2 separate regions of the Homo sapiens genome follow, and region 1 is linked to region 2. The links are contacts of gene promoters, found by promoter capture Hi-C in human tissues and cell types (Jung and others, 2019). All regions are on one chromosome and are shown on one strand. Each heading gives the region's core, a stretch centred on a gene start or on the middle of the fragment in contact. The rest is flanking DNA. Distances are from core to core; before and after follow the strand shown.

What was found. The method cuts DNA at HindIII sites, captures the fragments that hold promoters and counts their contacts. A contact is called where the count stands out against the background at its distance.
Region 1: the fragment with the promoter of NOP14 here is called in contact with the fragment with the promoter of LETM1 in region 2 in 2 of the 25 tissues and cell types used here (dorsolateral prefrontal cortex and spleen).

Annotation. Positions count from the first base shown.
Region 1 is chr4:2,959,522-2,964,696 of GRCh38, forward strand. NOP14 (NOP14 nucleolar protein) reads right to left here and starts at 3,885. Exons shown (of 18, transcript NM_001291978.2): 1 at 3,604-3,885. The coding sequence starts at 3,798. GRK4 (G protein-coupled receptor kinase 4) reads left to right here and starts at 4,050. Exons shown (of 16, transcript NM_182982.3): 1 at 4,050-4,601. The coding sequence starts at 4,550. RefSeq lists enhancers at 2,443-2,512, 3,543-4,076, 4,077-4,610 and silencers at 4,073-4,502, 4,673-4,722. The HindIII fragment of the contact is 12,457 bases long and covers 1-5,175 here.
Region 2 is chr4:1,851,955-1,857,672 of GRCh38, forward strand. LETM1 (leucine zipper and EF-hand containing transmembrane protein 1) reads right to left here and starts at 4,202. Exons shown (of 14, transcript NM_012318.3): 1 at 3,915-4,202. The coding sequence starts at 3,996. RefSeq lists silencers at 2,668-2,844, 3,639-3,828, 3,839-4,398, 4,799-5,018 and enhancers at 3,410-3,911, 4,549-4,618, 5,288-5,718. The HindIII fragment of the contact is 14,961 bases long and covers 1-5,718 here.

The sequences.
Region 1 (5,175 bases), core at 2,635-5,134, 1.1 Mb after region 2:
AGTGGAGCTTGCAGTGAGCTGAGATTGTGCCACTGCACTCCAGCCTGGGCGACAGACAAAGACTCTGTCTCAAAAACAAAAAAAAACAAAAAACACAAACAAACCACCTTGGGTACAATTTCCTGAACCAGAGTCTAAAGACAGCGAGTGTCCCCAGATAGACCAGAGGGCTCCATCGCCATTGCTCTGTTCTCTCCGCTTCTGTTACGAGCCATTCCAGAGCGAGATCCTGCTGGATGCTGATAGTGAACCACACACAGTACTGAATCAGGTTAAGCTCTCTGAACCTTCACCATTCTTTATCCGCAGAGCAAAATTTTAAAACAACATCTCACTATTTAAATCACAAGGTCTAGCTGGCAATCAGATGGGAGCACATTACATGTGCTAGCCTGTACTGCTCGATGAACTCTGTACGGACAGAGGCTGCTTGCATGCTACACTGAGACCTTTTTTTTTTTTTTTAAAGATGGAATCTCGCTCTGTCGCCCAGGCTGGAGTGCAGTGGCACAATCTCAGCTCACTACAACCTCCACCTGCCGGGTTCAAGCAATTCTCCTGCCTCAGCCTCCCCAGTAGCTGGGATTACAGGCGCACGCTGCCACGCCCAGCTAATTTTTTTGTATTTTTAGTAGAGATGGGGTTTCACCGTGTTGCCCAGGCTGGTTTCGAACTCCTGAGCTCAGGCAATCTGCCTGCCTCGGCCTCCCAAAGTGCTAGGATCACAGGTGTGAGCCACCAAACCCAGCATACACCGAGAAGACTTCTGAGGTCTGTCCCTGCAGAGGGAGGGAGTGTCACTGGCTTCTAGCAGGAAGGGGGTAGATGGGGCAGGCATCAGCCATCTCTGCCTCTAAAAATATTAGTTCTCATTATCTGGAATATGATTCTATGGGTAAATCTTAGTGAAGAACAGCCCTTAGGCTATAAATACGTAATATGAGTTATTCTACATTATTGTGATTCTCTTTCTTTCTTAAACTATATAGATGTTGTGACATCATATGGAATTTACGGCATAAAATGGGGATAACAGTACTTCCCCCTCATAACGGTGAGGATTAAATGTAAACCGTGTGGCACAAGGCCTGACCAACTGTAAGGGACCAGTAACTATATTATTAATATAGTTACTATATATTATTATATTAATATTATATTAATATTATAATCACATTAATATTAATATATTAATATTATAATCACATTAATATTAATATATTAATATTATAATCACATTAATATTAATATATTAATATTATAATCACATTAATATTAATATATTAATATTATAATCACATTATCAATATATTAATATTATAATCACATTATCAATATATTAATATTATAATTACATTATTATTATATTATTATATCAATATTATATTAATATTATATCGATATTATTTTAATATTATATCAATATTATTATATTAATATTATATCAATATTATATTAATATTATATCGATATTATTTTAATATTATATCAATATTATTATATTAATATTATATCAATATTATATTAATACTACATCAATATTATATTAATACTATATTAATATTATAATAATATATTAATATTTTAATAATATATTAATATTATAATAATATATTAATATACTAATATAATAATATATTAATATGCTATTACAATAATATATTAATATGCTAATATTATAATAATATATTAATATATTAATATTGTTAGTATATTAATATATAGTAACTATATTAATAATATAGTTAGTATATTAATATATAGTAACTATATTAATATAGTTACTGATTTAAGAACTACATTAATATAACTTATTTTATAAATTATTTCAGAAATAAGGAAACTGAGGCACAGCTATAAAGCAATGTCCTGAGACTGGCACCTGGGGGCTGCCCTCTTCCTGCCAGACTGAGTGCCTCAGAGTGCTACAACTGACCAGAGGGGAGAAGCCAACTGAGGCAGCCTGTTTACTTCTAAGGGACTAACCCACATGAAAAGACCCAGGCCTCCTGCGCCGGCCTCACGGCCCCTACACGCGTTATCAAGCTTGGAGTCAACTGGACGACCTGCTGTCCCTCAGACAGCTGTGAGTGCCACACTTCACCATACCGGGACAATGTGCCTTTGCATGTGTGTCCTCTGCCCACCCTGGGCCCATGAACAGCTCACTCCCCTTGCAAAACTTGACTGTAACTCCCTCTAGAAGAATTTTTGGACTTTCCTAACTATTACACTTTTTCCTGACCGGGATCTCCTAAGGCACTCAGGTTCCATCTTTGATTTCTTCAAATATTTGTGTTTCTTCCAAGGGCCAAGCATTGGAGATCCAAAAAGGAGCAGCAATTCCCGTCCCCGTCCCAGGCCTTCAGCACAGGGCAGGGAGGTGGATCTGCTCAATACCAGAAGTTTGAGCAACCTGTCCTATTTGGGTTACATAGCTTGGGTGGTGAACCTGAGCTGGCCCTTTAGAGACTTTCGGAGGTAAGGCAGACCTTTTGGACAAACTGAGTTGCAAGAGGCGAAGCAAGGACAACAGCCAGACTGTGCGGGACTCGAACGACAAGCCAAGAAGGTTAAGAATAACAGTATTTAGAGAACACTTGCTGTGTGCTCTATGTGCTATCTTACTTAATTCTCACAAACCACCACGAGGGGTAGGATGTATACTATCATCTCTACTTTTGAAATGAGAAAACTGAGGCTTCAGTGGTGAAGACAAATGTGTCTCTTCTAGGGAACCACACTACCTTATTCTCCCACCCCGGCCCGGGGGTGTGTAATGAGGGACTCCTATCGAAGTCAGCTGTAAGTCTATCTTGCCTATTCATTATACAGGCTGTCGTCTTCGCGCAGTAAGGATAATATGTGTTTTGATTCAAAGACCATCCAGCTTGCACACTGTGATGAACAGAGATCAGGAGCTCATGAAGGCAAGGGCAAGTCTTATTTACCTTTATCTCCCCGAACCTAGAAGCGAGGTCAAACAGAAGCGCTCGGGGTAGCAAGAAGGCTTTGTAGATATTGAAATGTGAATGCATGCCCAGCCCTTACCAGGTGCGTGACCTTAGGAAATGCACTTGTCCTTTCTGTGCCTTAATTTTTTCACCAACCTGCTAATGTATGTTCCTCAGTGAAAATTTAAAAAAAAAAAAGTTAAAAAAACTAGGAAGCAATGAGTTTCCATAGAGTTACTTCCCAAGGAACAAGGTTACGCGCTTCGGGAGAGAGCCGATGAAACATCAAACGCAGCATCCTACACAGCCCCTATCCACCGTCCCCAAACCTGCAGAGCTCAAAGTAAACGCGGAAGGGTTAACAAGCAGCTTGGTCCAGGGCGCCGCCCGAAGTGACTGACTCGGCCTGACCCGGTTGGAGGAGTCGCCGAAATAACACGAGTGCAGGGTCTCCAAGACGGCGAGAGTTTCCAGGTCACTCCAGCTCAGAGAACAGCAGAGGCTTTCGGACTATCAAGTCAGTGCCGTGTGCCTGTCACGGCCTGTGCCGCTCAACGAGGAAACCGACGCACCGAGAAGGACGCAGCCGGCCGAGAGCAGCGTGGGGTCCAGATCCTGCCTTCCGGCTCCCCGTGCGCCCCCCGCTTACCTTCCTGAGGGCCCGTGCGCGAGACACCCCGGGCAGTCCCACGTCGTGGCGCGTCTTCCGGCCCAGGATCTGGAACTTCTGCCTGTTAACTTTCACCTCGAACGGATTGGAGTTGGCCTTCGCCGGGCCCCCTCGCGCTCCCGCCGGCGCCCCGGAGGCCTTCCTTCGCGCCCCGACCTTCTTCGCCTTCGCCATGGCGCGCGCCCCGCTGCGCCCAAGGGCCCGAGACCCGAAGAGAGACAGGCGCGCGCTACCCTAAGACACGTGCCGGGCCGCGGAACCGCTTCCTCGTCTCGCGAGAACAGCGCAGCACCTCCGACTCGCGAGAAGTAAACACCGCGCCCGCAGGCTCGGCTTACTCGCCGATAGGCTCAGCGACTACAACTCCCAGCAGGCCACGCGCCGCGGCCCGCCGTGTACTCTTGGCGCAGGGCCTTCTGGGAGCTGTAGTGCCCCGGCCGCGGCGGCGAGGGGCGCTCCCTCTTCAGCTAAGCCGTTAGCGCCGAGCCCGCCCGGGAGCGGGTCGCCGGCCGCGGCGGGCGCCCCTGCCAGTGAGCCCCTGTCCGAAGTGAGCCACGGCATTGACTCGGGGCTGCCCGGGGGCAGGGCACTGAGGAGGGAGTTGCGCGCGCGAGGCGAGGGCGATGGGGCCAAGAAGAACCGGGGCGATAGCGCGGCAGCGGTGACAGCTGGGACCCGCCGCGGTCGGGCTGCCCCCTCCCCTCGCCCCGACCGCTCCCCTGCTGGTGAGGGCCTGCGGAGGCGGCGGCGGCGGCGCCCTTGGTGGCAGTGGTGGCGGCGGAGCAGCCTCCCGGGATCGTGTCCGGAGCTCGAGGAGAGGGTGGTGCCCGGCGAGCTATGCACGGGGGCGGCGGCGTCTCCTCCTGTTCCGCCTCCTCAGTCTCCTCGGTCTCGCAGAATCCGCCGGCGGCGGCGGCGCCAGGACATGGAGCTCGAGAACATCGTGGCCAACTCGCTGCTGCTGAAAGCGCGTCAAGGTGGGTGCGCGGCAGGCGCCCCCGACCCCCCCCCCAGAGAACCCCGAATCCCGGGGAACCCTGGCCCCCCTGAAGGAACCCGACATCCCCGGAGAACCCCGATTTCCCTGGAGAGCCCCGACACCTCCCACTGGGGGAACCCAGATCTGCACGGAGCCGGAGCCGGGGTCTGTGCAGTGTGGTCAGGCTGCCCGGGCCAGGTCCCAGTCCCCATCTCCTGGCCCAGATGAGAGAAGTCTGCGCTTTGCTCTTCTTAGTCTTGCCCTGTGTCCTTGTCCTGTCCTCTCGGTGTGACCTCGGTGACAGTGTTGCTTCAGGATGCGGCAGGCAGTGTCCTGCTTGTGTTGGACAACCTGTCCCACCAAAAAAGAACGGCGTCTTTATGGTCTTAAGGGGGACAAAGAATAGCAGCCTGGGAACTACTCTGGGCGAGAACCTTCCGATAATGATTGTAGGGCAATGTTATTTTTAACATAGCTGCTTGGTTTTGAGGTTTGATCTGAGGCTCTATGGTGTGTCAAGTGTGCTTTAGCACGACGTGGTCACAGATGGACAAGTTGGCAAAAATTCAGCC
Region 2 (5,718 bases), core at 2,952-5,451:
AGGCCGTTCGGGGTGATGGGGATCATTGCTCCACGTCCCTCACGAGCACAGGTGTCATCTGTGCCCAGGCCCTGCTGGGAGCCCTTCTGTTCTTTTTTCCAACACCAACGAATTCTCCAACTGGGAGTCCAACAATTTAATTCCATACTGACACTACCCAGAGTTAGTGCAGACCTCACAGGGTACGGGCTCAGTCCCACAAGACTGCCCCCACTCCATGTGCCCAGGCTTACCCAACTTCAGCTGACCACACATTTGAGGGTTCCCATGACCGCCTTGGTTTTGATCATTCACAAGAATGACTCAGATGTCAGCAATGGGCTCTACTTACTGTCACAGTTTATTATAAAGGGTACCTGGTACCTAGGAACAACCAGACAGCATGGCCAGGGAGGTCCCGAGCACAGGATCCTTTGTCCTGTGGAGCTAGGTGGACGCCAGTGGGAAGCCTCACCAGCCTCCTCACCCAGAAGTTCTCATCAAGGCTTCATGACTGATTACAGTATTGGCCCACTGGCCATGGGGACTGAACTAAATCTCCAAACCCTCTCGCCTCCCTGGAAGGGGCAGGAAGTTCCCACCCTCTAATCACAGCATGGCCAGCACCTCAATCTATCTAAGGGCCTGCCTGGAGTCACCTCATCAGCATAAACTCAGGTGCAGTGATAACGAATAACAGAAGACACTCCCAAACTCACGCCTGTAATCCTAGCACTTTGGGAGGCCAAGGCAGGTGGATCGCTGTTGAGCTCAGGAGTTAAGCCTGAGCAACAGAGACCCTGTCTACAAAAATGTTAAAACATCAGCTGGCAGGAGGATCGCTTGGAGGCTGTGGTGAGCCATGATCAAGCTACTGCACTCCAGCCTGGGTGACAGAGCAAGACCCTGTCTCAAAATACAAACAAATGAAAAAAGACACTCCCATCATTCAGGAAACTTCCAGGGTTCTCAGCCCTCAGTGCTGGTGCCAGGATCAGGTCAAAGAACAAACAAACCTTTCTTCACCTGGCTTCACCCTTGCCACTCCTGGGAGAGCCTCCCTACCTGACCTCCACCTCCTCCCCAGGCAATCTCTTCCCTGACTTGAATACACACGCCCCACAGGTCTGATGGGCACGGCACAGTCCACACCTCCAAGAACTCTCAACTAGCGCCCCTCCTCATTCTGCTCCTCCCCAAGTCCTCCCCAGTTTCAACAAATGGCACTGTTGTCCCCAGGCGGCTCAGGCCAGAGGCCACCTCTCCCACACAGCCCTCACTGTTGTCCCCAGGCGGCTCAGGCCAGAGGCCCCCTCTCCCACACAGCCCTTGGAGTCAGCCCTGCTTCTGCTCGTAAAGCGACTTCCTCCCAAAAAGGACAAATGGGGAGGTGGGACAAGAGTAACTGGGCAGTGAAAAACCTGACAAACACCACTTCAGCCTACTGATCAAGGTCAACATCAACAGTGACAAATCATTTGGACAGCATGGAGCCTCGGCGGGATATGATAAGGATGCTTCACCTCTGTGGTCTTCCTCCTGAAAAACCATCTTTCCCAGCTTAATTATGAGGAAACATCAAGAAATACCAGTAGAGCAGCACCCTACACTCCACCTGGGCAGTACTCCTCAAAGCTGTCAAGGTCACTGCAGACAAGGAAAGCCTGAGAGGCAATCAAGAAGGGTGGTACAGATGGGTCCTGGGACAGAAAAAGGACCTCAGAATGGAGAACGGGAGAGTAAAGAAAATCTGAATATGTTATGGACTTTAGTGAACAGTAACAGATCAAGGTCAGTTCATTAACTGTGACAACGAACCCTACTCATCTAAGATGTTAATAGCAGGGGCCTGCAGCACTCCACTCGGTGTATCACTCATCAGTTCAGGGACCTCCTCCACAGTCCAGCCCTGGGTCTCGCTGGCTCTGAAATCCCTACTGTTTCTACAGCAGACCTGCCAGTGTCCCTGTCACAAAGCACAGTAGTAACTACAGAAGACATTTGTGTTCCTGAAATGACAGAATCGCACATAAAAAGCTAATTATTATTATTATTTATCAAAAATCTGATAATAAGCACGAAGTGTTAAAAGTACTTTTATCACCATCAAGAGGTCCAGAGAGAGCTCTAACATCTAACACAGCAACTGGAAAGACCACATGCTGAGCTCCACCTTCAGACTGTGCAGTTCCACCACTCAACATCCTCTCACCACTCCAAAAGTTTCAGTGGCTAACCAGCCATTATTGTAAAAATTACAAGAATTGGCCAGGCGAGGTGGCTCACGCCTGTAATCCCAGCACTTTGGGAGGCTGAGGTGGGTGGATCACGAGGTCAGGAGTTCAAGACCGGCCTGACCAACATGGTGAAACCCCATCTCTACTAAAAATACAAAAATTAGCCAGGCATGAGGGTGTGCGCCTGTAATCCCAGCTACTCAGGAGGCTGAGGCAGGAGAATCGCTTGAACCTGGAAGGCAGAGGTTGCAGTGAGCCGAGATCATGCCACTGCACTCCAGCCTGGATGACAGAGCGAGACTCCATTTCAAAAAAAAAAAAAAAAAATTACAAGAATTGGGGGCCGGGCGCGGTGGCTCACGCCTGTAATCCCAGCACTTTGGGAGGCCGAGGTGGGTGGATCACCTGAGGTCAGGAGTTCGAGACCCGCCTGGCCAAGACGGAGAAAACAGTCTCTACTAAAAATACAAAAATTAGCCAGTCGTGATGGCGGGTGCCTATAATTCCAGCAACTCGGCAGGCTGAGGTAAGAGAATCACTTGAACCCAGGAGGTGGAGGTTGCAGTGAGCCAAGATCACACCACTGCACTCTAGCCTGAGCAACAGATTGAGACTCTGTCTTTAAAAACAAACAAACAAACAAACAAAAAAAAACAAGAATTGGGAGGATACATTCAGGGCAACTTCAATCTATCTCTTTGGGGGTGGGGAACAGAGACAAGAATATTGAAGCTGGGTGCCTGGGCATGGTGGCTCCTGTAATCCCAGCACTTTGGGAGGCCAAAGCAGGAGGATCAGTTGAGCCTTGGAGTTCAAGACCAGGCTGGGCAACATACCAAGACCCTGTCTCTACAAAAAAACTACAAAAAAAAAAATTAGCTGGGTGTTGTGTGGCACAACTAACAACTTGGGAGGCTGAGGCAGAAGGATAGCTTGAGCCCAGGAGTTTGAGGTGCAGTGAGTATGATCGCACCACTGCACTAATTATTTTACTTGAGTCCCTCTTAGCAAGTTTTATGTTTATTCCAATTTTACAAATAAGGACATAGACTCAAATAAGTTGGTTAATTAGAGAGAGAGAGGAGGTGGGCACACCCTGGGACAGCATTCACTCCAGACAGCACCTGAGGCTAGGGGGGCTAAAGCCACGCACCCTGAGGACCCTCAGCGGCTCCGGAGTCCCCGTGTTCCCCGGGTGCCGGTCGCGGCCTAATCACACCACAGGGGTTTGTAGGTGCTGGCATCACCTCATCAGTGACGGACCAGGAAGGCTCCTGCAGCCCAGCAGGTCCTGCTCGCCGGTGTCTGCCCTGCCCACCCAGTCTCGTCTCCGGGACCCCAAACGTGACCAAAGGGCACGGCCGTCCTCGTGCGTGGACACGTTCCACCAAGCTTACTCGCGCAGGGCGCGCCAGGGCTGCCCAGCCCTTCAGAATTTTCCCACTGTCTCTGAGGCAGTGACCCGGGGGACCCGGCCGCCTAAGGTCACAACACACGGCAGAGGCCCAGCGGCTCCGCCCGGCGCTGGCGGCCCAGCCCGCGACGAGACCCGGGGCCCCACGGTCCCGCAGGGGCTCCGGAGGCCGGGACCACCGGGCTCCCCGCATCGCCGTGACAACCAGCCCGAACCCGCGGGTCGTCCGCGCTCCCGACCCACCAGCCGGGAGCCGGCCCCGCCCTGGGGTGCCCGCCGCTTACCCCGCGGGACGGTGTACCGAGGCGGCGGCGGGAGGCGGGCGGGCGCCCGGCCGCGGCAGCTCCTCAGTAAGATGGACGCCATGTGCTCGGGCGCGGCGGCCGCTCCGGCCTCCTGCGCTGCCTCCTTCTCCGCGGCGGCCGCGGCTCTTCGCCGTCCCGGCGGCGCTTCAGACCCGGCCCGCGCGGACGGCTGACAGAGGCGGCTGGCCTCGGACGGGAGGCGCTCTCCTCAAGGACCCGGCACCAGCGGCGGCCTTGTCCCGGCACAGACGTCCGGAGGCGCGGGGCGGGGCGGCCAGGCCGCGGCTCCCATTGGGCCCCTCAGCGCCCGCCGCTGGCCAGGTGAGGGGCGGACCGCGCCACCGCGGACTACCGGTTCCGGCGTGCACCGGGACGGCCTGCACGCTGGGGTGCGGACTACCGATCCCGGCGTGCACCGGAGCGGCGGACTACCCTGAGGCGCGGACTACCGGTCCCGGCGTGCACCGGGGCGGCTGGCTCCTGGGGCTCGCTGCATCCTGGTTCCCGTCGTACCGTGGACGCCGGGGCTCGCAGCGTGGCGGCCGCAGGAGCTGAGGGAGTCGGCCGCGCTTGCGCGGGGAGTGTCTTTTCGTCTCCGGGCGGCGGCAGCAGCGCGTGTGTCCGGAACTTTTCTGGGACTAAGTCCTGCACCCACGAGTAGAAAACGGCTCCTGGGAGCTTGGGGCTCCAAGGGCAAGTCAGGGGACGCTGGGGATGGAGGGGCGCCCTCGACGCCCTCGGCCGCGGTCCCTCGCCGGCCCCCCTGCTCTGTGGCTCTGCCCTCGGCGGTCTGCACTCTGGCGCGCGCAGCTCTGAGTGCCTCTTCCCTGCGTACCGGGCGGCGCTCCCCAGATACGGCGCTGCTCGGCGTCGGGAGTCCCCGTCACCACTGGGGGGACGGGAGCGCAGGGTCCCGCCCCGAAGGACAGGGCCATGCCGGCCCCTGGAGGCGAGGGCACTAGGCCGGGTGGCGGCGCAGCCAGCATAGCGGCCCCCCATCCCGGCACACCGCGTCCTCCCGTCTGAGCGGGAGGGGTAGATATGGGTCCTGCGTTGGCGCGGGGGGACCCCTCGTTTCGCTCTGGCCTAAGCAGCCCCTGGGGTCCCGCGCGCCGCAAGAGCGCCAGACTTCCTAACCTGGGCCATACCCTGTCCGCTCCACTTCCCAGTCCAAGAAGGAACAGCCGAAGCCCAGGACGCCAAGGACCTGGCTCGAAGTCTCCAGAATTCCCGCCAGAGCTGGGCTGGGCTCGCGGACCGCTCATGCGCCGTCTCCCAGGAGCCTCCCCCCAGCCCAGTTTAATAGCCGGCCCTGACCAGTCCAGGGGAGAGAGACCGTGCAGCCTCCCAGCAGACCGTGACCTCTGAGCTCCACCTTCCCCTTCCTTCCCTAAGATGAGGATCCCTGAGTTGGGGCAGAGAAAGCAGGCAGGGAGAAAAATGGGGACCTGCGGCGCTGGGGGCCCAGCTGGTGGAGATCTCCAGCTAGGAGATCCCCAGCACAGCACTTGCCCTGCCCTCTGTCTTGTTCAGGGATGTAACCTGCCTCCTCCTGCTTCTCCGCGGCACCTCAGGGCACCGCCTGGGGAGGGTCTTGTAGTGCACACTCAGCATCTCTGTTCCCTGGAGCGCATGGGGTGTGAAACGCCTGATGCCAGCCAGCTCCCCAGTCTTGAGAGGCTGGTTGAATGGCACATCTCCCTAGGAGGCTCCCTCCCCAGGGTCCCCTCTGCCCCTGCTGTCCATGCAGTCGGTCCTCACCCGTCAGGAAAACGTAGCCTGC